Linked DNA regions of Homo sapiens: all the other regions are linked to region 1. Evidence: promoter capture Hi-C in 16 types of primary human blood cells and fetal thymus (Javierre and others, 2016). All regions are on one chromosome and are shown on one strand. Each heading gives the region's core, a stretch centred on a gene start or on the middle of the fragment in contact. The rest is flanking DNA. Distances are from core to core; before and after follow the strand shown. Region 1 holds the start of TMEM132D (transmembrane protein 132D). Region 2 has its middle 27 kb from the start of TMEM132C. Region 3 overlaps TMEM132C (transmembrane protein 132C). Region 4 overlaps TMEM132C (transmembrane protein 132C). Region 5 has its middle 80 kb from the start of SLC15A4.

What was found. The method cuts DNA at HindIII sites, captures the fragments that hold promoters and counts their contacts. A CHiCAGO score of 5 or more calls a contact.
Region 2: a fragment that was not itself captured here is called in contact with the fragment with the promoter of TMEM132D in region 1 in 2 of 17 cell types (total B cells and naive B cells); the score reaches 6.3 in total B cells.
Region 3: a contact is called between a fragment that was not itself captured here and the fragment with the promoter of TMEM132D in region 1, in 2 of 17 cell types (M2 macrophages and M0 macrophages). The highest score is 6.3, in M2 macrophages.
Region 4: a fragment that was not itself captured here is called in contact with the fragment with the promoter of TMEM132D in region 1 in 2 of 17 cell types (M0 macrophages and M2 macrophages); the score reaches 9.8 in M0 macrophages.
Region 5: a fragment that was not itself captured here is called in contact with the fragment with the promoter of TMEM132D in region 1 in 1 of 17 cell types (naive B cells); the score reaches 5.8 in naive B cells.

Annotation. Positions count from the first base shown.
Region 1 is chr12:129,901,764-129,906,759 of GRCh38, forward strand. It overlaps TMEM132D (transmembrane protein 132D), which reads right to left and starts at 2,262. Exons shown (of 9, transcript NM_133448.3): 1 at 1,498-2,262. The coding sequence starts at 1,576. The HindIII fragment of the contact is 8,442 bases long and covers 1-4,996 here.
Region 2 is chr12:128,237,329-128,242,324 of GRCh38, forward strand. No RefSeq gene overlaps it. Among named protein-coding and RNA genes, the nearest start is that of TMEM132C, 27 kb to the right of the region's middle. The HindIII fragment of the contact is 730 bases long and covers 1,524-2,253 here.
Region 3 is chr12:128,273,012-128,278,007 of GRCh38, forward strand. The region is part of intron 1 of TMEM132C (transmembrane protein 132C); the gene reads left to right. Among named protein-coding and RNA genes, the nearest start is that of TMEM132C, 8.3 kb to the left of the region's middle. The HindIII fragment of the contact is 321 bases long and covers 2,470-2,790 here.
Region 4 is chr12:128,691,331-128,696,326 of GRCh38, forward strand. It overlaps TMEM132C (transmembrane protein 132C), which reads left to right. Exons shown (of 9, transcript NM_001136103.3): 6 at 2,499-2,704; 7 at 4,500-4,773. Among named protein-coding and RNA genes, the nearest start is that of SLC15A4, 130 kb to the right of the region's middle. The HindIII fragment of the contact is 1,940 bases long and covers 1,125-3,064 here.
Region 5 is chr12:128,741,235-128,746,230 of GRCh38, forward strand. No RefSeq gene overlaps it. Among named protein-coding and RNA genes, the nearest start is that of SLC15A4, 80 kb to the right of the region's middle. The HindIII fragment of the contact is 2,576 bases long and covers 683-3,258 here.

The DNA.
Region 1 (4,996 bases), core at 1,012-3,511:
ATTTCCAAAGCTATTCTGTACCTTTCTTAATACAACCTTGTTATTGCAGCATAAACACAAAGAAGTCTGGACCTATTATAAAACCAAGTGAGAACCAACCCCCCCCGCCCCAAAAAAAAAATGCTGGGCTGTTGTTGCTGTGGATTTTGGTTTTTTTAACCTCACGTCTGCCTGAGTCAGGTTCACTGAATTCATCAACCTTTTCTTTGGTTTCCTGTGCACATTATAAATCCAGAAGGCTCTGATCCCAGGGATTGTTCTAACTCATAATTAGGAAACGTGAGCCCATTTCAACCACACTTCAAAGACAGGGAAGGAGGGGGAACGTAAATTCCTCTTTCTAAATCGAACCATCACAGAACTCGGCATTTCAACTGTCTTCATCTATTATCAGATCCAAAGCAACATAACCTCAGTGATTCTGGAAGAACTCAGAGAACAGACAATTCATGTAATTAAAAGACTTTGTGCGTGATAATTGGCTTTGAAGTTTCTGAGAGAGATCTCATCTCAAAAATCTTTGCAGAAAAATATGGGTACAGGGTTCTTGCAGCACGTATTAGAGACTGCTGAGACGCTTCACTCTCCTCCCAGTGTATCTATCTGCAGGAAAGGGGCACGGGTGGGGGAACCACACACAAGCAGCCCAGGTCAATCATGAGAAAGAATCTCCCGCACAAATCACACCATTTCTCTTCAAGGAAGAATGACTGTCCAGAGCTTCCAAACTTGCTCTTCCCATGACAGACAGGGATGCTGGCAGAAGAGAAGAGGAAACATTGAGGAATTCCTGCCTTGACACATGGCTTCAAGTCAGGGCTCCGCTGGGAAAATTCGGGTCACAACTTGTAGCTGAAACTCCACGTGCACCCTGCGGGGCCGCTGCTGCTCCCAGCACCCTACGGAAGGGTGAGCGCCAGACCCTGTGCCCAAACCTCACAGCGGCAGACCTGGAGAAACCCATCCCCCTTCTTCAGAGCCGCCCCCCAGGCTATATTTTTGGCAGCCTATAATACACAAAATAGTATTCCCATACAACAGGAGTGCTCCAAAATTATTTCCAAATAGGTCAGTGCCACCAGGGAAAGTCAATCCCAAATTCCAGAAATCTCCCTGGTCATCTCAATCCCCTCCTCCCCCGACAGCCGGCTCGGCCCTCCAGAGGCCACCTTTCCTCTCAAGGGTCCCCACGCCCTCTCCCTTTACAGAAAAGGCTTTCAGGAAACAGCCTTCCTTTCCTTTCGGCTCCTTAGTAGTCTCACCTAAGGCCTCCCACCCAAGTGCTCCAGGACAAGCACCTTCGGCCAAGGGGCGTCCGAGGAGCTTGGCTGCCGCACGAGCGCACGTTCACACGCGCGCACACACACATGCACACAAGCGCGCACACACACTTGCACACGAGCCCTCTCTCCCGGCCGCCCCCATCCTCCACACACTCCCACACACTCACTCCAGGCGAAGTTAGTCCCCGGGCCCTGGCGGCCGCGGCGTCCTCACCTTTGGAAAACAGGGCGGCCAGGCTGATGAGTACCGGCGACCAGTGGTGCCACAGCGTCCCCATCTCAGACGGGCACATCCTGGAGACCCGGAGCGCAGATCCTCCGCTCCCCGGCGCCGTCCAGGCGAACAAGAGACCGTCTCAGTCCCCTAGAGGCCCGCAGCGGGGCCGGTGGCGAGGGAGCGCCCGGCTAGGGGCCCGAGCAGCCCGGGCGCCCTGCTCCCTCTTCCCGCCAGTCCATGGCCAGGCCGGGAGGCGACGACCGCGCGGGCTCCTGAGTTGCTCTCCGGAGTCCAACACGCGCGCAGGCAAACCCCACCTCCCTCCTTCGACCCCAACAGAATTTTTTTTAAATTTTAATCCACAGGGGGTATTTCCTTTCCTGTTTACCCGAGCGAAGAGTGGCCCCCGGTGGCCCAAGGAGGGGCGCCTCCAGGCGCAGGGCTCCGGCGGCTCCAGCTGCTCCCGGGCTGGCTAGCGGGCGCTGGCGCAGGCGGCGCCGGGGTGGCGGGGCTGCGGAGCCCGGGACGCGGGCAGAGGCGGCTCGGAGCCCCCCGGGCGGGTGGCCGGGCTCGCTGGGCGGCCCGGGGCTCCCTGGCCCGCAGCCCCCATCCCAGGCCGGCCGCTGCGCCTCGGGGCTCGGGCGCGCGCGCGCTCCGGCACCCAAAGTTTGGCGGGTGCGGCTGCTCCCCGGCCGCCGCCTCGGCCCGCCCGGCCCCGGGCCCGGCTGGGGCTCGCGGGGCTCTACGCGCGCCGAGCGCACTGCAGGCTCCGGAGACGCGGGGCTCCCCCCTGCGCCCGGGGGAGGCGGGCCAGATGTGCGCGGAGGAGGGCCCGCCGGCTCGGGGACGCGGCCGAGCAACGCAGCTGCCTCCTGCCAGCAGGCGCGGGGGCTCCGCTCCGCAAGGACCGCATCCGGAACGGAACGGAGGCGATCGCCACGGTGCCCGGAGCCGGCTGGGGCTTTCGCCTTAAAAATTTGTCTGCTTTTAAAAAGCCCCACCCTTTCGGAGTGACAGCTGTGAGCCCCAATCCGCAAAGTAAATCCCACCTCCCCCTGGCCGCCCCACGCCCAGCCTCCCGGCCACCCTCCCTGCGAGCGCGGACGCGCGGTGGCGGCGGGCGAGGGCTCCCAGCGCGGGCGCACCCCGGGGACGGAGCCACCCACTCTCCCAACAGGTGTCCAGCTGGCCACCGGCCTCTCGTCGTCATCAAAACCTCAGGCCCAGGGGAGGTCCTCCAGCCCGGGGGCACCTGAGGCTCTTCGCCAGGGAGAGCGCAAGGATGGCTGGAGAAGGGCCCTCGCCCCGCCCTGCGCATCTCCCAGGGATCGCAGTGAGGAAGTCTCTGACACGCCACACTGAGGTCATGCTGGCCCCAAGCCCCTTCCCAGAGCGATCCCCCAAGTTAGTGTCCCTAGAAACATGTCGTGTGCTCCCCAGGGCTCACTGGGAAAGGAAATGGATCCATTAGGAGACAACATTGCTTTGAGAAGATAAAAGACATGATTCTCAACACCGCCCGGAATCTCCAACTAAGACATTCCCACACCAAGATCCCTAAGCACCGTCCTGTAATTTGTAGCCCAAGAACTGCTTTGCTCCACGAGAGCCTTTAAATTAACCCCATCAAAGCTCAGAGGGAAGAAAAGCATTCAGAATTTTTAAGGAATATTGTAAACCAACAAGCCCTGAATCTAATGAGGTGAATTCACCTCAGTAGATAAAAATGGGTCGTTATCATCTGACTGAGGGGGCAATGGACTTTTTTATCCTGTATGCCTGTAGTTGCAGAAATATACCAATGCTTTAAGAGTTTTTAGCTTTCAAAGTTTCAAGGAAGATCAAAAAAGCCACTGCTGTTCTACCGAAGATTGTTTTTCTGGGTTCATGTCCTTTGAGATGTGCTCTTGTCTTTTATTCTGTATCTACTTATCTGAATATATCTGTCTTTCTGTTTTTTCTTTTGTTTGTTTCTTAAACTTGTTGCCTTTTCTCTTTGTATTGCTCTCCTGTAAAATTCCTAAGAGTCGACGCTGCAAAGACCCTAAGAGATTGTCTCTTTCACTGTTTCTGAAGTTTGAACCAGCAGGAGAGTCACTGGAAAATTTGTTAGACCTGGGTTGCTGGGCCCACCCCAGAGCTATCTCGGCAGGTCAAGGTGGGACTTCCGATCTCCGTTCCTAAAAAGTTCCAGGTGATGCTGATGCTGCCGGCCTGCGGAACACGTGCTGGAACCACTGGTCCCCTTTCTCCTTCACCTGAGTGATGAGAGAGCTGAGCTTTCGTCTCTTGGACACCTTCACCTGGTCTCTGAGTGTCAAAATTGATGCCCGCACTGAATGCATAATCCAGGTTCCATCCTTAACGCTACAGTGGGTCTGAGTCTATTTGTAAATCATCTATTTGTGACACTGAGTCTATTTGTAAGACATTTCTCAGACATATTGACTAGAAACAAGTGGTCCCTGTTCTTTATTAAAAACAATCATTTTATGTTTCTCTAAATCAAATTGAGTTTTTCCCCTGAATTGCAATCATCAAATAACTTTTCTTTTTGCCATTGCAGAAGGTTTCTCTATCTGTAATGTGAAGACAAAAGGTGACTGTCAAGTTCCAGCTGCTGCCTAAAATGTTAAACGGTTTCTTCATTATGCGTAGTTGGCGAAACAAAAGTTTTTTCCACTCTTTGGTATGGAAGATTTTTTGGGAAGATGCAACTTCAGATACCTAATCAGTGGCTAAAATAAGATGCAAGAATGGCTTCTTACTTTTTCTCTCTCCAGTATGCCATTCTCCCTGGTACATCTAATCTTCTTTGGGTAATTAACACAGCTAATTGTGGGGAAGCAAAACTTAGACTTGGAGATGGACACTGAGGGCTCATAGGTCCCTAACTCCAGCCCCTGCCCCAGGACAACTTCCCATCAAAATCGCCTGCCTTGTCTCTCTCAAGTTACTTGTAAGAAATCTGCTTTCCTCCAAGAATATGTGTTTCATCTGCGGGGCCATAAATCAAGCTGTAAGCCTAATTTTGTCGGTAATTAAATTGCACTAATTGTTCATGCTGTGTGGATGAGGCTTTTACACTAAGCAGTTTTTGTTGTTATTTTTCAATAAAACAAAAACATTCCCTGTAGCAGTTTTTGAGAAATGGCAACTTTGAGCGTTGATAAAGGCAGAAAGGAGCTGGAATTCAAGTACTGCAGGGGCTATGCCACTGGTGGATGAGAGGACACTTTCAGGCCCTCTAAAGATGGGGCCTCCTGTAAAACTGAAGCCATTCTCTTCCAGTCCTTCTGACTGCATCCAGGAGAAAGGCTCAGGCCTGAGCTACTCCGGAACAGCCTTTTAGTAATTGCAAATGTCCATGTTTTTTAAACAAAAAAGGAAGCTCTTTCTGCACAATGACAACATCTAGCTCAAGTTACTAACATCGATTTGTTTTTATTTTGATTATTATTATTTTTGTTTTCTCTCCTTTTACTTGGTGATGCAT
Region 2 (4,996 bases), core at 639-3,138, 1.7 Mb before region 1:
CTGCGCTTATCTCTCCACCAATTCCAAGCTGAGAGGCTGAGTTTGAGATCTTCTGCTTTCCTGGCAGATTCTCCCCAGCCCCTGCTCCCCCCATCTTTGTGCCCAGGGAGGTGGCCTCCATGGGCTTCTGTCTTCAGCATCCAGTTGGGCTTGGCTGATAGGAGGCACCAACAGAAGACGGGAGAGTGGGAAGAAAGTAAGTTTGGGCATTTATTCCCCACACCCTCCCGTGAGAGCATCCTGGCCGGCCCGCATCTGTTACCCAAGGCCAAAGCGCCCATCGAATTTACTCTCTATTTATCTGTTCCGTGTTCCCAGAACCACCCCTTCCCCTTGTCCCCTTAAGTCTGGGAGTGATCACAGCTCCTCACTCTCCCCAGCCCCAAATCTGCATTATTTCTTTGATTTCCTCAAACCCCGACCACACCTTTATAAACAGTCCCTTTATAAAATTCTCTCCACATTCCCAGTTTGAGTGTGTATTTCTTACCTACTGAGATGCTGACAGATACAGGGGGTAGGGAACAATACATCATCTCCCCTTCCCATCCCCCCATGATTCTGCCTTTCAATCCAGTACTGGGTTGAATGGTGTCTCCCCAAAATTCATGTCTACCCAGAACCTCAGAATGTTGCCTTATTTGGGAGTAGAATCTCTGCAGGTGTAATTAAGGGAAAGATGGTGGTAAAATTGTCAGAGGCATTTGAACCAGAGCAACTCCATCTTGAATAGAAGCTGGGTAAAATAAGGCTGAAACCTACTGGGCTGAATTCCCTGTTAAAGCATTCTAACTCACAGGATGAGATAAGAGGTTGGCACAAGACACAGGTCATAAAAACCTTGCATAAAAACAGGCTGCAGTAAAGAAGCCGTCCAAAACCCACTCAAACCAAGATGGCCACCAGAGTGACCCCTGGTTGTCCTCACTGCTGCACTCCTACCAGCGCCATGACAGTTTAGGAATGCCATGGCAACTGCAGAACGTTACCCTATATGGTCTAAAAATGGGAGGCATGAATAATCCACCCCTTGTTTAGCGTATCGTCAAGAAATAACCATAAAAATGGGCAACCAGCATCCCTTGGGGCTGCTCCGTCTATGGAGTAGCCATTCTTTCATTCCTTTGCTTTCCTAATAAACTTGCTTTCACTATACTCTACGGATTTACCCTGAATTCTTTCTTGTGCGAGATCCAAGAACCTTCTCTTGGCATCTGGATCAGGACCCCTTTCCTGTAACAAGGTCATACTGGATTCAGGTGGGCCCTTAAGCCAGTGAGGCTGTTCTGTTAAGACACAGAAAAGGACACACTGACACAGAGGAGAAGACCATGTGAAGACAGATACAGAGATGGGAGGGATGCAGCCACAAGCCAAGGAATGCCCCAGGACCAGAAGCTGGAAGAAGCAGGAACCTCATCTTGTAGAGACTTTGGAGGGAGCACAGACCTGCCCACAGCTTGATTTTGGACTTCTGGCCTCCAGAACTGTAAAAGAGTAAGTGTCTGTGTTTTGGGCCACCAAGCTTGTGGTAATTTGTTATGGCGGCCCCAGAATACCAATCAGGAAACTGAGACAGATCCTAACCAAACAGCAACATCCAGCATCTCATTGCAGTGTCTGCATTTTTCATATAACATTCCAAAATGTTTTTCTCCATGGGTGACAATGATGAAGAGAATTTTACTTTTTCAGGGAAACTGACGCAGTCCTAAGAGAGGCCTCTTTCATGGTGCCAGCCCTTCTGTAACAAGGGAGTAGCCATAGCCCCAGCCCAGCAGAGTCCTCAGCCCTGGAGGAAGGATGGGTTCCGTGGACAGCAGCGACTCTATGTCTGCATGAAGACCCCAGTCGCTCCCTACTTCTGTTCTCTCCTGATTCCAAAGTGTCCTTTTGTTTGCTTTTAATTTATGACCAAATCTCAAGCAGCCTCACTTCCTTCCAGTGCCCAAACCAATACATCTTTGTCCAAGTATAATCTCATGACAGTTGTCAGCCAGGTTTTTAATTGTGAGGAAGAGCCGTGCTTCTAAGAATCCATAAGTTTTGTCCACCCATGTGCCAGGGATTTTCAGGATTTTAAGCCTGTCTGCATTGGTAGAAACATGAAAATGGAAAGCGTAACTTGCTAACAAGGTTTCTGTGATGAATTTTATGCAGGAATTTCCCCCTGGGGTTCTGCTTGTTTATTTAGGACAAATACAGCAAAATAGAAAGAAGAAAAGACTCATTGGACCATGGATGCCTTTTCAAAGCTTATTTTGTGTTTTAAAGAAATGAAATTAGTATCCAACACTTAACCATTGGGGCAATTTACATAAAACTCAGTCAATTCAGCCACACTGTGCTCCCCATTTGCACTTGGGAACATTAAGCCAGAGTTGAACACTAGCTACCATTTGACCGGGATGGTGCAGGTCTCCATTTGCCACAGTCCCCACCTTTCCTTGCTGTCTGACACCTGCTCTATTTAAGGCATTCATCTTGGCGAGTGGGGCTCCCTAGATTTAAGTTTGTGGTCTCTAATATAGGGGCTGCTTTATTCATAGCTCATTCAACAAGTATTTATTCAGGGTGTAAGCTGGGCCAAATACTGTGTCAACTGTTGGGGATATACTCAGTGAACAAGACAGGCATGGTCCCTGCTGTCAAGAGTCTTGCATTTCGGGCAGATAAATAAGGTCCTAGCGTTCTGTCGCTGGAAAGAAATTTAAAATTTTAAATGCCATCTCAAAGATTTTGGACTTGTAGATACATTTGCCTGTGTGTTAAGTTTCACTTCTTGGTGGCAGGGTATGAGGTTGAAGTCATATGCCTTAAAGTTGCTTGCCCCATTTTCGTTGTATTTGAGGTTCTTGCTGCTCTCAGGATTGTTAAACCACCTGCCTAAATTCCCAGCATCTCTGTAACTTCTGATCTCTGAGCAATGCCATATTTGATATCTCAAGATTATTAATATCCTAAAAATGACACACAAGCTTTGAACATGTCAGGAATTAACATTCTCACCCAGTTAACACCTCTTAGCCAGCCTTCAGGAACTACAAACTTAGAATCTTTTTTAGTTGTATAGTCAGAAGGTTTGCTAAGAAAATTGACAAGATTTTGAGATGGCTCTCAGAAGTGTCTTAGAAGATGTATCTTAAAATCCTGAAAACATACAATTTTCTTAGCAAACCTTCTGTTTAAGATGTAAGGAATGGTTTAAAAATTAAGCAATGGTTACTTTTCATTAGGAGAAAATCTTCCATGTTTACTAAAGTCAGCATGATCTTCTCAGAACCACTCTGTAAACTGTGCACCCATTATGGAAGAAGAAAGTATTTCTGAAAAGTATTACATTACTGGAGATCTTATAATTGAACAAAATTTTTTAACTTCTATGAATTTGCATGCTTCTATTTCAATGAGATCTTCAAAACAAGAATGTGAAATAACCACCATCGTTGCCTTCAAATAGGTCAATGCTATGCCCTGAACTTAGCAGTAACAGTGGAAATGGGGCCACCTCCATCTAGTTCCTATAGAATTTTCACCTTGGTCAGAAGGTGAGGTTTTCTCTTCACTTCCCCAAACATCCAAAGGCACCGAAACTCATCACCTCTGTCCATGGTGCTTGTCTGCCTCTGAGACAAATGGGTGCAGAGAAATCAAGAGGTGATAGGGCTGTGGGGACCCTGGGTCTCCACACAAGTTCAACTCAGGATTTACTGACATTACATGCAACTCAGCACTCACTCACTCCACATACAACTCAGCACTCACTCACTCCACATACACCTCATCATTCACTCACTCCACATACAACTCAGCAGCCACTCCACATACAACTCAGCACTCACCCATGTCACATACAACTCAGCACTCACTCACTCCACATACACCTCATCATTCACTCACTCCACATACAACTCAGCAGTCACTCCACATACAACTCAACACTCACTCCACATACAACTCAGCACTCACCCATGTCACATACAACTCAGCACTCACCCATGTCACATACAACTCAGCACTCACTCACTCCACATACACCTCATCATTCACTCACTCCACATACAACTCAGCACTCACTCACATCACATACAACTCAGCACTCACTCACTCCACATGCAACTCAGCACTCACTCACTCCACATGCAACTCAGCACTCACTCACATCACATACAACTCAGCACTCACTCACTCCACATACACCTCATCATTCACTCACTCCACATACAACTCAGCAGTCACTCCACATACAACTCAACACTCACTCCACATACAACTCAGCACTCACCCATGTCACATACAACTCAGCACTCACCCATGTCACATACAACTCAGCACTCACTCACTCCACATACACCTCATCATTCACTCACTCCACATACAACTCAGCACTCACTCACATCACATACAACTCAGCACTCACTCACTCCACATGCAACTCAGCACTCACTCACTCCACATGCAACTCAGCACTCACTCACATCACATACAACTCAGCACTCACTCACTCCACATACACCTCATCATTCACTCACTCCACATACAACTCAGCAGTCACTCACTCCACATACAACTCAACACTCACTCCACATACAACTCAGCACTCACCCATGTCACATACAACTCAGCACTCACTCACTCCACATACAACTCAGCACTCACTCTCCACATACAACTCAGCACTCACTCACATCACATACAACTCAGCACTCACTCACTCCACATGCAACTCAGCACTCACTCACTCCACATGCAACTCAGCACTCACTCACTCCACATACAACTCAGCACTCACTCACTCCACATACAACTCAGCACTCACTCTCCACATACAACTCAGCACTCACTCACTCCACATACAACTCAGCACTCACTCTCCACATACAACTCAGCACTCACTCACATCACATACAACTCAGCACTCACTCACTCCACATGCAACTCAGCACTCACTCACTCCACATGCAACTCAGCACTCACTCACTCCACATACAACTCA
Region 3 (4,996 bases), core at 1,380-3,879, 1.6 Mb before region 1:
GTTATTGGTTTTTTGGTGTCACATCTAAGGAAGCTGTGCCTTACCCAAGGCCACAATGATTCCCTAAATGTGTATAGTGTTGTTCAGGTCTTCTATATTCCTACTGATCTGTTTGTTCTGTCACTTATTGAGAGAAGAGTATTGAGGTCTCCAACTATGTTATGGTTTTGTCTGTTTTTTATTTTAGCTCTGACAGCTTTCGTTTCATGTATTTTGAACACTGTCTTAGGTACATACTTAGGATTTTTTTGTTGTTGTTCAATCAATCCACCTTTATGTAATGCCTTTCTTTATTCTTAGAAATATTTCTTGTTCTAAAATCTATTTTATCTGATATTAATATAGCCACCTCAGCTTTCTTTTGATTGGTATTTTTATGGTAATATCTTTTTCATCTTTTTACTTTTAACTTATGTCTCTATATGTAATGTTGGTTGTTTATAGGCAGCATATAGTTGGGTTTCACTTGTTTATCCAATCTGATAATCTCTGTCTTTTAAGTGTAATGTTTAGACCACTTATATTTAATGTAATTATTCATCTATTTGTATTAAGATCTACTATTTTGCTCATTGTTTTATTTATGTTCCATCTGCTCTTTATTCTTCTTTCCCTACCAGCTTTTATATTGAGTATTTTCTATGGTTCCATTTTATCTCCACTATTGGCTTATTATTTATACTTCTTTTTAAATTTTAGTCATTGCTCTATGGCTTACAAAATACAATTTTAATTAATCATTACTTGCATTCAAATTATGTTACGGTGCTTTGTATGCTATATAAGAAATTTACAACAGTATATTCCTTACACTGTTTTCCTCTACTATGTTTTCAAGTACATGCACTCACGTACCCTAGGTGTGACTGGGAGAATTGTCATTTAAAAATTATCTTTATGTCTATTAAAGAAGAATAAAAATTGTATTAATGGTGTTGCTTTTGTTTCTAAATGGGTACTTCTGATGTTCTTAAAACCAGTTTCTCTTCAAGATGTTATTCTCCTACCTGTGCACTGAGCTCCCTTGTTTTATATGCCTTTAGGAACTTAGAAGTTGCTGCATTCAAGGAGAAAGCAAATGTGAAATACAACCCATCTGGAGTCTAAATCAGCAAAATTTCCAAGACAATGGATTCCAGTTATTCTCCCAGAGAGACTGATTTCTTGTCTTCCACAATGTGTACGCATTTTTTCTTCCTGATTAAGGATGTTCTTAATAATGTGTTAGGAATGTTGAGTTTACACTTGCATATGGCTGGAATCCTAAAGTAACCCAAAGACTTAATATAGAAGACCATGTCTTTTCTATGTATAACATTTTTTTCTTTCTTCTCTCAATACCCTTCATCTTGCCAGCAACATGGTGAGTTATCACTTATGGACTAATTAGGAAGGTTCAGTATCATAGAAACAACAGCTTAAGTTTGAGCTTCTGTTCCACCAGTTCCTGGATGAATTGGTCAGAAGTCTTTGGTTGTTAGCAACAGAAACATCTTAATACCTTAATTGCTTATTACTAAGTTATAAGAGATTGGAAGCTCTTGACTCCAGAGAAAGCTAAAGGACGAGGTTTCCTATGAGCAGGAAGCTGCCAGGTGCTGGGTTCCTGTAGCTATAATTGTCTGGCTTCTTTAGGGTACCGCAGTTGGAAAACAGGAACCATTTTACTTATTTTTGTCTCAGTGCTCATGTTTTAGATTCCAGGGTGAAAGAAGCCTATACCTTGGCTAAACTTTTCACCTGGGGAATTTTGAAAATACCAATCCCCAGGCCTTATCCCAAACCAATGGAATCAGGCTCTTTGGTAGGGATGGAGTAGGGGTGGGTGTGGAGGCAGGGCTGATCAGTTTTACTGTTTAAAAGCTCTTCAGGTGATTCTAACTCTCAGGGATGCACACAGATTGTGTAGGCCCATCTCTATCTAGAAAGGTATAAGACAGCCTCATTAATAGTTCCATCATTTTGTATCCAAGGGGAAAGGATTTTCCTCCCAGAGAAAAACTGAAGAGCTGTTACTAAAAGAAGGTGTGATGGATGCTGGATGAAAAATCAACCAATGTTCATTCCACTGGCCCTAAGACCTAGTGTATGTAGTGAAAAAATAAAGGACAGCTTTTCTGAGCCTCAGTTTTGTTTTATAAGTCAGGGTTCCCCAACCCTCTGGTCATGGTTTGGTACTGGTCCGTGGCCTATTAGGAACTAGGCTGCAGAGCAGGAGGTGAGTGATGGATAAGCGAGCAATGCTTCCTCTGAATTTATAGCTGCTCCCCATCCCTCACATTACTGCCTGAGCTCTGCCTCCTGTAAGATCAGCGGTAGCATTAGATTCTCATAGAAGCTAGAATCCTATCATGAACTGTGCATGCGAGGGGCCTAGGTTGCATGCTCCTTATGAGAATCTAATGCCTGATGATCTGTCACTGTCCACCACTAGCCCCCAAGATGGGATGGTCTAGTTGCAGGAAGACAAGCTTAGGGCTCCCACTGAATCTACATTATGGTGAGTTATATAATATTTTATTATATAGTACAGTGTAATAATAATAGAGATAAAATGCACAATAAATGTAATGTGCTTGAATGATGCTGAAACAATCCCCCCACCCCCTGGTCCGATGTAAAATTGTCTTCCACAAAACTGGTCCCTTTTGCCAAAAAGGTTGGGGACCACTGTGCTAAGAAGGGATAATATCTATTTTATAGGATGGTTGACAATATTTAATGCAAAAGTGGACTAGAGATACTTAGCACGCTTTATGAATTTCCAAGGGCAGTTGTAACAAACATGGAAGCTTAATGTAACAAAAATTGGTCCTCTCACAATTCTGGGGCCAAAAGTCCAAAATCATATGTTGTCAGGGCCATGCACTGTGCTGAGCCCCCAGGGGAGGATCCTTCCTTGCCTTTTCCAGCTTCTCTTGGCTCCTGGTGCTCTTGGCTTGTGGCAGCATCACAGCAATCTTTGCCTCCGTCTTCACATGGCCTCCCATTCTAAATGATCCTTACCTGTCTGTCTTATAAGGATACCGGTCATTGGATTTATAACCCACTGTAATCCAGGATGATCTCATTTCAAGATCCTTAATGACATCTGAAAAGAGATTTTTTTCTTAAGCAAGGACATATTCACAGGTTCTAAGTGGACATTCGCTTTTGAGGCCATGCAAACTATTGCATGCGGTAAGACTTGGCATATAGTAAAGTTCAATAAATCAGGGCCATCATTATTTGTATTATTAAAGCCATGGAGAAGAAGAATCCACAGTACAATACAATGGAAACCTTACATAGATATTTTTTAAAAATAACTGAGAATAATTTAAAACACAAAGCAAAGAAAACAGAACTGTGCATTCAACAATATCGGGGAATAGGAAAACTGGTCAAGTGTGAGGTGTTTGTTTATTGTAGACCTAAACAGAGAGCCAAAGGTTTATATTCTGAGACATCCCTTGACCACTTCATGCTTAACTACAGCTTAGGCATAATTCCATCTGGCTTAGTGTTAGGATATTCTTGACACGATCTTAAGCTTCCCTTCTCCTTCTGAGTTCTCAGAGTCATGAAAACCATCCAGAGCAGGCCCCATTTCTCTCTTAGGTTAATTTTTTCTCCCAACTCTGCAGTTGACTTTTTTCATCCTTCTTGCTCAATTGGTCCCTCTGGCCCCATAATTATGTTTACTTTTGCTGTGTTTCCTCACTGTCTCTGCGGACCCAGATGCTGTAGAAATGTGGATCAAATGCTGGCCACTTTGGCACGCGGTATTCTACTAGCAAGTCTTTGAGGCAACAAGGGATTCTTATATTCCCAAAATAAAGGAACTTGAAGAAAACTGCCTCCTGCCTCAACACACACATGTGTGCATGCATGTGCGTGCATGCACACACACACACACACACACAATTCTAGGCTAGTTTCTGGTCTTATCATTGAGTTACAGCTTAGTGATGATTTTAAGACAAAACAAACAAACAAAAAAGAAAAAGCTCTTACTTATGCCCTAAACAAGGTATTCCTGAAAATGTGATTTTTGTCTCCACTGGAAACAATGAGGTTGGGTTTGACACACTGAAGCAGTTTTCCCTGTTTGATGGAAATGTTTTTTGAATATGCACCAAATTATTCAGTTTCTTATTCACGATTCCTCTAGTTACAAATGCCAAAACTCCCAGCTTAAGCAAACCATACCAAAGTCAAAAGAAGGAAAAAAATAATTTGTTCAGTAACTGCAAAGTCCAGATAGACTTCAGGCACAGCTGGATCCAGGGGTCAAGTGATGTCATTGGACAGTTTCTGTTTCTCCCAATCTCTTGGCTGCTCTGTCCTCTTTGCTGTCTTCATTTTGGAGAGGCCATCATTATCAACAGCACCTCCAGGCTTATATTCTGTCCACACAGCATACTCAACTAAAAGAAAGTGACTTCTCACACGGTTGTAGAAAAAGTTGCAGGGGCAGATTTTTGGCACTCACTACAGCCTTTCGCCCACTTACTGCGGACTTAAGGGAATGGGGTTTTCTGATGATGCAGATCTTGGGCACAGGAATTCTGGGAGCCTGGGGGTGAGGTCACTTCCACCCACACCACTAAGATAGAAGGTGTGATGATGCCCAAACACAGGTGGAGCTGTTTCAGAAGATGGGGAATGACTGCCCAGCAGGCAAAACCCTATTCATCAACCAAATGAGCAAAATGAAGGGAATCAAAAGCCACTGGATGGCCACTTCTCACGGGTGTGCTCCACATTGTGGGGGCAGCCCACATGGGAGGTCAGCTCGTTTCTCCTGCCTATGCACAAACAACAAAGTCCAGGACATCTCAAATTAGGAAGGTGGCCTTCTTTATCTCTCATCACATCTCTACCTCTGGGTGGCTTTTCCTCTTTTCTGCTTGTCTTGACCTTCATTCATTCTTCTCTCATTGATATCCAGCCATCCAACATCCCTCCAATAAGAGATGGGCACTGCAATAGTAGCATCTTCTATCACTGACCT
Region 4 (4,996 bases), core at 845-3,344, 1.2 Mb before region 1:
CTCACTGCATCGTCCATCAACCCCAAGATCCTTGATGACTGTCCTGAAGCAGGCATCCCCATGAAGGGAAGGCCCTGCTCATCCATCCCTCTGTCCATCTGTCTGTGCATCAGTGTGTGCTTCCATCCATCAGTTCATCTGTCTATCCATCTGTCCAGCTATCTACCCATTTATCCACCAGCACTTAACCTGCCCATCCATCCATCTTTCCATCCATCCATCCGTGCATCCACCCATCTGTCTGTCCATCAGTGTGTGCATCTGTCCATCTGTTCAGCTGTCTATCAATCTGTCGACCTATTCACCCATTTATCCACCAGCCATTCACTTGTCCACCCATCCATTCATGTGTCTGTCCATCAGTGTGTCCATCCACCCATCAGTTCATCTATCTATCCAGCTGTCTACCCATTTGTCCACCACCCATTCACCTGTCCACCCATCCATTCATGTGTCTGTCCCTCAGTGTGTGCATGCACCCATCAGTTCTTCTATCTATCCAGCTGTCTACCCATTTGTCCACCACCCATTCACCTGTCCACCCATCCATTCATGTGTCTGTCCATCAGTGTGTCCATCCACCCATCAGTTCATCTATCTATCCAGCTGTCTACCCATTTGTCCACTACCCATTCACCTGTCCACCCATCCATTCATGTGTCTGTCCATCAGTGTGTCCATCCACCCATCAGTTCATCTATCTATCCAGCTGTCTACCCATTTGTCCACCACCCATTCACCTGTCCATCCATCCGTTCATGTGTCTGTCCATCAGTGTGTGCATCCACCCATCAGCTCATCTGTCTATTCATCTACCCAGCTATCTACCCATTTGTCCACCACCCATTCACCTGTCCATCCATCCATCTGTTCATCCTTTCCTCCATCTGTCCATCTGTCTATGCATCAGTGTGTGCATTCATCCATCTGTTCATCTGTCTATCCATCTATCCTTCCATCCATTCATCCATGCAATGTCCATTTCACTGAGCTCCTGCTTCATAAGCAGCTGAGGTAAGGAACCCAGAGGTGAAAAATGAACACAATGTACTTTTTGCCTTCAAAGATTTCTTAGTTTAAGAGGTGATATGGACACATGGGACCAATTTAAATCACATCTGATAAGCTTGGCTATTCAACAGGGGTCATATTGTTTCTCTATAACCCAACTTGGTTTCTATTTTCAGTTTTCAATTCATCGGGGTGGCAGAAACAGAATACCAGTCTAATTTCCAGGGGATTTAACTATTGCCAAGGCCTTGGGGAAGGGCACATCTTGTCTTATAATCTTCTGTTCACAGTTCCTAGGGGACATTTTTTACCGGTCACAGTCCGCCCAGGTTACCTCTTCAATGGCCCCTCATTGTTGTCCACATTGCCCCTTCCTGCCTGCTTGAGAACACAGGTATCATTCTGCTGTTTCCTTGCTACACTGGGAATGCCCTCTGGGCTGGTAGATAGAGTCATATTTGAATGAATAATCTGGGAACACAAAAGCCACATACTTGCAACCTTTATTTTTTTAGTCTGTGTGTTTATTTTTCTTTCTGCTTTGTCTCATCCCTTTCCTGAGACAGCAATCTGCCAGAAAGGGGAAAAGGAAAGGGAGGCGCATAGGGAAAGGGAACATAGGTTGGTAGTCCCTAATGTGATCTGCCATTCACATAACGAACACGTATTATATAAATAATCCCACGGGGTCATAGAAGACCACAGAAGGGGTCTCATAAGGAACCCCTGAGCTGGGGTAGGTCAGGCAAATAGGGATGGGAAGGTGCTCCCAGGCACAGGGACCGGCCTTGCCAAAGCCTGGGGACCGTGAAGAACCTGCATCAGGCCTGCATGTGCATGCAGGGGAGAGACCTCAGAATTAGTGAGAATCATGCTGGGGAGGAAGGCACTACGGGCCCTTTGCATCCTTGGAGGCTGGATGGGGTGGGTTGTGGGTGCAGCTTACTTTCTGAAAAGACATAACTGCCCAGGGTGTGAAAACCTCTGGTGCTCACATCAAATTACTCAGCCCACCCAGATTTCAGCTACAGCTGCAGTTCTGTACAAGTTCAAGTTCACTTTTTGATTGCAGTCTCACCTCAATCTGCTTTCTGTTTTCTGTTCCGGGTGGGGCAAGCCCTCAACCAGTAGGAATAAGAAATGGTAGCTAAAAATATTCCCTCCTCTTACTCCTCAAGTGGACAATTCTAGATACTTTTCATGAAGCCTCTGAAAACCGAGCCCATGGTCCCTGTAACAGCCTAAAAAATGCACCTTCCTATTGGGTTTCCTTCTTTCTCTGTCTTCCTCATCTGCTCCTTCACCCCTGCTCCCTGGGGTCACCTCCCAATTAAACTGAGTGCACCAAATCCTTGTCTCAGGCTCTGCTTTAGGAGAAACCAGAAATAAGCATTTGTGCTTTGCAAGATAATAGGAAAAACAAAAAAAGGATTGTCTCCAAGGCTCCATGAACTTCTCCTCCATCCTTTCTCCCTCTGTCTTTGCAGGTGTCTGAGCGCTGTGACTACATCTTTGTCAATGGCAAAGAGATCAAAGGAAAGATGGATGCGGTGGTGAACTTCACATACCAGTACCTGAGCGCCCCCCTGTGTGTCACCGTGTGGGTGCCCCGGCTGCCCCTGCAGATCGAGGTCTCTGACACGGAGCTCAGCCAGATAAAGGGCTGGAGGGTCCCCATTGTGACCAATAAGAGGTGAGCCTCGGATGGGGAGATGCCCTAGAGCCAAAACAACAACTTTATTTACTGACCTTAACACTAAAGGACCCAATGCTTAAGAGATGCTGGTATTGTCTCAGCAGTTGAATCTCCCCAGGGCTCCCAGATAACCCAGCCAGGCCCAAAAGCTGCTAAACAGCAGGTTTGCCTCAAACCCAGGTTGTCCGCACTCTACACTGGGGCTTATATGAGGCTGTCTCTTGAAAGTGGCTCTCCCAAAATGACACGATGGAGTTAATACATTTTTTTAGCATCTTGGTTACCAGGTAATTTGAAGTTTGGTTTATTTTCTCCAAAAAAAAGTCAGTCCTTTCCTGTGCTTTATGCATATCTATAAGCTTGAAATGTTCTGTGCAGATCAAATTATTGGATAAAATTTAATTGTGTTTCTAGTGGATGCTGGAATCATTATTTGCCAAAAGCTTCTAATTTTTTTGGGATTCCGGACTGTCTGTCTGTCACATGCAAGAGTATGGGGTCTTGTTTTCTCAGCCCTGTGACCCCCGGATTAGCAGACATTAGCTAAGTGAAGGTGTTCCTGAGTTCACAGCTTCCTGCCTGGAATGCTCCACCCCAGACCATCAGGGCTCTTTCCCTGACAGTCCCCCAGGCACCAGGGCCTTTCTCATAAGAGAGAGCATTTCAAGAAGAGTAAGTAGGACAGTGAGATGCGGAATCCATCTCTACAAGGGGAAGCTGAAGGCATTTGGCCCGATGTGGGAGGAAAGCTGTGAATCTACCCAGTCCTTCAGATTAGTCTGTGGTCATGAGTGGCCAAGACAATGAGTTTGTTCCACATCCCTGAGGGGGAAGAATTAAGACTCCCTGGGCTCCAATCCAATCTCTGCCACTAATTAGCTTTGTGAGCATGGGCAAGCTACCTAACCTCTCTGTGCCTTAGTTTCCTCATCTGTTCATGAGAATAATTATGAGTTTGCCTCATAGTGTTATGAGGTTAAAAGAGTTCATACATGTGGAAGCATAAAATGGGACCTGCCACATCTCAAGTGTGTAAGACAGCTCTGTCCAATAGGACTTTCTACAGTGGTGGGATGTTCTAGAACCCCTCTGTCCAATATGGTGGTCACTAGCACAAGTAGCTATGGAGTGCCTGGACTGTAGCCAGTGTGATGAGGTTCAATTTTTTATCTAATTTTTATTTATTTAAATTAACATTAGGGCTGGGTGTGGTAGTTCAGGACTGTAATCCCAGCACTTTGGGAGGCCAAGGTGGGAGAATCACTTGAGGCCATGAGTTCAAGACCAGCCTGGGCAACATAGCAAGACCCCATCTCTACAGAATTTTTTTTTTTTACTTAGCCAAGCATGATAGTCCATGCCTGTATTCCCAGCTATTCAGGAGGCTGAAGGAGGAGGATCACTTAAGCCCAGGAGTTCAAGGCTGCATTGAGCTAGGATGGACCACTGCACTTTAGCCTGGACAACAGAGCAAGACCCTGTCTCTAAAAAGATAATAATAATTCATTAATTAATAAAAATTAAAATAGCCACATGTGTCCAATGCCTACTTATGAGACAGTGCAGACTTGGTACATATTAGCCCTTGTCTTTTATTTTTCAATAAATGTATTTGAGAAAGAGATGCCCATCACTTAGTGTTGCCTAGAGATAGGCTTGGTGCCCCTTGCATGGTCCTGGCGCTCGTGTCTTCAATGTGGTCTCCTTGAGGTTGAGGTGAGCGCCTGCCTGTCTCAAGAACGTCTTAGACTCCTCTCCCTGGATCTGAGAGCTCTTTGTCCCTTCCCACAAGGCCCACTCGTGAGAGCGAGGATGAGGACGAGGAGGAGCGGCGGGGCCGGGGCTGCGCACTGCAATACCAGCACGCCACCGTGCGGGTCCTCACCCAGTTTGTGTCTGAGGGCGCCGGTCCATGGGGCCAGCCGAACTACCTGCTTAGTCCTAACTGGCAGTTCGACATCACTCACCTGGTGGCAGACTTCATGAAGCTGGAGGAACCTCACGTGGCCACCCTCCAGGACAGCCGGGTCCTGGTTGGGCGAGAGGTTGGGATGACGACCATCCAGGTAGGAAGCTGGGAGTCTCTGTGTCCCCAGCACTGGGCATGTGTGCAGTGTTGAGGGAGAGTCAATGGGTGGGCAGATCACTGTGGCCGATTCCCCAACCCATGTGTATCATGGGAACACAGGAAGATGAGCCCAGGCCAGATCTTGAGTCCAGCTCCTTCCAAACAGAATGGAGAAGGTGGCAGCTGCACCCTCTTAGCTCCCCGTGTGACCTCATTCTCAA
Region 5 (4,996 bases), core at 721-3,220, 1.2 Mb before region 1:
CAACAAAGAATTGCTTATTTGTTCTTTATTATTGTGTTGAAACTGGATGAGAAACCTCTGCAGTGGGCCTCAGGAACGCACAGGCTTGTCTACAAGTGGGGAGTTTTCTTTGAGTATCTGCATTCAGCAAATTCTATCATATTCTCTTTGTTGCTGGGGAGAAAAATTGGACAAGATGTAATCCTGAGGGATTTGTCAGACAATGGTACCTGACCGGTGCAGATTGACAAGTTAAGCATGTGTCTGCTGGACCGATTTTCACTTCGCTGGCCGTCTGCAAAGGAAAATCGACGGTTCACTGATGTTTCCATATTAGCAAAGGGTCAAACTCAGCTGTCTCTTGAGAGGAGGAAAAAAAGCAACCTCAGTTCAGTGCTCCCTTGGCCTAAAATGTAAACTCTGAATCGTTTGATCAATCAAGAAAAGCTTTTCTATCCAAAACGACCGTTTTCTGCATTTCCCTTGTGGAGAAAATGCCTTCTCTTTTGGAAACTGCTAGAAATCTGCTTCTCTCATCAATATCACTGGCAGATTTTTTTTTTCCTTTCTTTAGTTCTGAAAATGATTAATCTAACAACAGTTTCGGTGACTTTCTATGAGCGGACCATGTTCAATTGTGCTGATGGCCCATTAATACTGGCCTAATGTTGGCTGCACTCCCACCTGGGGGATCTACGAAGAAAGCTTTGTGATTTACCCAGAGAGAGCTCATCACGGAATTAGTGCAATGGATAGATATGATCCTAGGATCTGAGGACGCCATTTAAATGGTCCAGCAGTGAAAAGAGGTCACCGAAAGCAGGGAAGCCAGACCATTAGCTTCAGCAGCAAACAAATAAAAAGTGCAGTCTGGCTCTTACACGTGGGCACGGTGGGTCTCTGCCCTGGCCCCACACTTCGGAGGACCCCGCTCCAGTGTTCCTCTGCCCTTGCATTATCATTTACCTGTGTTCCTCCCTGTGAAGGAGGCTATGATGAGCTGAATTATGTCTCTTTAAAAATGCATCTGTTGAAGCCCTAACCCCCAATATCTCAGAATGTGACTGCGTTTGGAGATAGGACCTTTTAAAGAGATGATTAAGTTAAAATGAGTCTATTAGGTTGGCCCTAATACAGTCTGACTGGTGTGGTGGTAAGAAGACATTTGGACACACAGAGGCACCAGCGATGCGTGTGCACGGAGGAAAGACCATGAGAGGCCTCGGTGAGAAAGAGAGAAGAAGGCTGACCCCAACCAAGAGAGGGGCCTCTGGAGAAACCAAACCTGCTGACACCTTCATCTTAGACTTTTAGCCCCCAGACTGTGATAAAATAAATTTCTGTTATTAAAGCCATGCAGTCTGTGGCATTTTGTTATGGCAACCCCAGCAGACTAATTCACAGGCCAACGGGAGGTGTCCACCAAGGCTTTGGTATCCACTTCTAGACTATGCTCCACAGAGCTGGACCCGAGAATCCTCTGCACAATGGCCCCAGGACTATTTCCAGAGCAGTAAGGGCCTCTACCTTGAGGCTGACCTCCCAAGAGAGGACCATGAAGCCCATGTACCCAGCCTGGCCCAGAGAGGCACCCAGGGAGTAGCTGTTTGCAGGGAATCTAAGCAGAGCTGGCTTCTGAGGACAGGTGTTTGCATGCAGACAGGTGAGGCCTCCACAATTGCAGAAGAAAGATGCGGGAGGGAGGGGACAGGTGTTTGCATGCAGACAGGTGAGGCCTCTCCAATTGCAGGAGAAAGATGCGGGAGGCAGGGAAGGTGAGCAACCCACCGCCGGGCATCAAGGCTGAGGCTGGCTTTCGCTGTTGTATGTACCATGTCCTGTGCAACTACAGGGAGTCAAAGGGTTTTCCACTGGAGCCTGGCTTTCTGGGTTGTTATGCAGGCATAGTGTCAAAGTGAGGAAAGAGACCAGCAGGATTTGTTTTCCGGTGACAACCCCGTTGACCAAAACAGGATCTGGTGCCGTCAGGATAAAGTGAAAGAACCGGCAGAACCAGCAGATGGTGACAAAAGCCATCCCCAGCTGCCCTCATTGCTCATTGGCATAAGAGGCTCCCACCAGCATCGTGACAGTTTACAAACACCATGGGAACACATTGGAAGTTGTCACCCCTTTCCTTGGCAACAACCTGGAAATTACTGTCCCTTTCCTAGAAAGTTCTAACTCACCCACCCTTTAATTTGCTGTAGCCCTCCCCTTAATTTGCACATAATTAAAAGTAGGTATAAATGCAATTGCCAAGAGCCCGTACATTGTCAACTCTGGGTGCACTGCCTGAGTTAGTCCTGCCCCACAAGGAGCAGTACCATTCAGTAAAACATTCCTGTCTAACACCACCAGCTTGCCCTTGAATTCTTTCCTAGGCAAAGCCGAGAACCCTTCCAACCTAAGCCCCAACTTTGGGGCTCACCTGTCCTACATTGAAGGCAAGGATAGGGAACGCATTTTGTTTGTTCACCTGATTAGTAACCTTTAAGCATTTACATCTGTGGCAGGTGGACCTCCACTGATGCTCTCACTTTGGGCCCCACAAATGTCTGGGGTGAGGCCAATGGTACCCAATCGAATGGGAGTTTGAGACTCCATTAGCCCTTGGGCGGCCCCGTTTTCATCTTCCTGATACTGATGGTGAGCTGGGCCAAGAGACACTCTGGAACCTTCAGGCTGCCTCTTCTCCCACTTGAATAGAAAAGCCCAGTGCATCTGAGGAGTCACAAGTGATATTTGCCGAAGGGATATTTTAAAAAGCAAACCCGGGATGGCCTCTCCAGGAGCAAGACAGAGAAGGGGGATTTCAATCAGGGAAGTGGGTTGAACTCAAAAGAGCGTGCCTCTCATTTGCAATGGCCAGGGCTCACCAGCATTGTGGGGGGAAGTGGTGTTACCATGGAAACCTCTTTCGGGCTTTGTGGTCCGTACTCAGGCTCTTCTCACTCATGAAGTCCGAATTGGTATTTCATAAAAATTTTAATATGTTCTAATTATTCTGAAGCTGCTGCCTCCGTAATTGATTTTCATGTAAAAGAACACAATTTCCCTGCATTTCCTGGCCAAAGTGTAATTGTGCCTATTTCAGAAACAAGTTTATCAATACTTTCATCGACATCTACCCAAAACAGAGGGTCAAAGTTCTTTTTCCTTTTCTTCAGGGAATAAGCACAGCAAATGTGTATTATCCAGAAGGGACCCTGAGTGAGGCTGCAGTTACAGGCCCTCATTAGGGATTTTCTACCGTAAGAAAGGAGAAATTCTAAACTAAGCTTGCTTTATTTTTTTCCAGCAGAACATTTACTACACAAATACCCGGAATAATACTGGAACATATTCACTCATAACTGCAGGCTTCAGGGTTATATAATTCCATTTCATGAGAATCACAGAAATGCAGAGAGTGAGAATGATGACCTCTCTCCCTTTGGAAGCACAAACCTGAGTGTAAATGTTAAGCCTTGGTGAGTAGGCAAAAATAAAATTAACTCCCAGATATCTCAGGCCTCCTCAGTGCAGGTCCTTCTGTGTGTGAAAAATTGGCTTTTAAGGGGAGAGATTCATGCTTGATAAATAAAGCCTAATTTGGAAATCTCTGCAGAGCTTTTGGACCAAGGATCAACCCCCTGCCTGTCTTCATTCTAATGTGGTTAAAACACCAATGGCCATTCATTCACTTTGTCTCTGAAGGAAACATGATGATATTATTAGCAGAGAGCTAGAAACTGGAGTGGAAGGGAAAACACGTAAGAACAGCAGAACTGGAGAAGATGAAATAAGACAGAAAGGGAGACAAGGAGTAGAGGGGAGAAAGAACAGAAAGTCTTACCTGATTTCTATATGAGTCGGGACTCTTTTGGTTCCAAGACATAAGAAATTCAACTCGAAGTGACCTAAAGAAGAGAAAGTTTGGGGGTGGAGGGAGGAGGCTAGCTGAAATTAAAGATCTATGAAGCTTCAGGCATAGCTGGATCCAGGTGCTCATACAAGGTCTGAGTGTGGTCACTCTCTCTGTCTCTCAGTTCTGTCATTTCCTGCATTACCTGCATTTCCAGGCAGGCAGAACCATGGCTGTCGGGAATGCCCAGATTGCTTCACAGCCTCTCCATACTTCCAGGAAAAAGAACCATTTTTTCCCTAACCATTAAAAAAATACATATAATTGCCAGGCACGGTGGCTCACCCCTGTAATCCCAGCACTTTGGGAGGCCGAGGTGGGCAGATCACGAGGTCAAGAGATCGAGACCATCCTGGCTAACACGGTGAAACCCAGTCTCTACTACAAATACAAAAAATTAGCCGGGCGCGGTGGCGGGCACCTGTAGTCCCAGCTACTCGGGAGGCTGAGGCAGGAGAATGGCGTGAACCCGGGAGGCGGAGCTTGCAGTGAGCTGAGATTGCGCCACTGCACTCCAGCCTGGGCGACAGAGTGAGACTCTGTCTCGAAAAAAAAATAATAATACATATAATTGAATATTTTTGGATCGCTGCATCCATGTCTACTTATAAAGTCATCACTGGCTAAGGGTATTCGGTGTTCTGATTGCCTAGTCAAATGTCTCTACCTCCAGAGCCAAGGAAAACCTCATAGACTAAAAGTGGAGTGGGTTCATCCCCCAAAACATCATATGGTTTTGTGACCAAGAGAAGAGAGAATGCATGCAGGACTGGGAACAGAAGAGATGAAGACGACAGGGCTTTACCTAATGACTTAACCCTCAGAGAATCAGTATGTTTCAGAGGCCAAATGCTGCTCACCCCTACAACCCCACGACTGTTTGTGAATGACTCCAGCTGCGTTTGCCTCCCTTTCCCAACGAGCACCTGGCGCAGGAGTGATTATAAGCAACCGCGTCTCATTCACTCCTGGACCCTACACACACTGGTATTAAGAAAATGTTTATTTTGAAAAGGGATTCAGAAGTGGCTATATTTATTTTTATATTTCCTCTTGCCCTAGTTAATATTTTTGTGGTCTTGACACCCTGTCTTTAAGAAAATGACACAT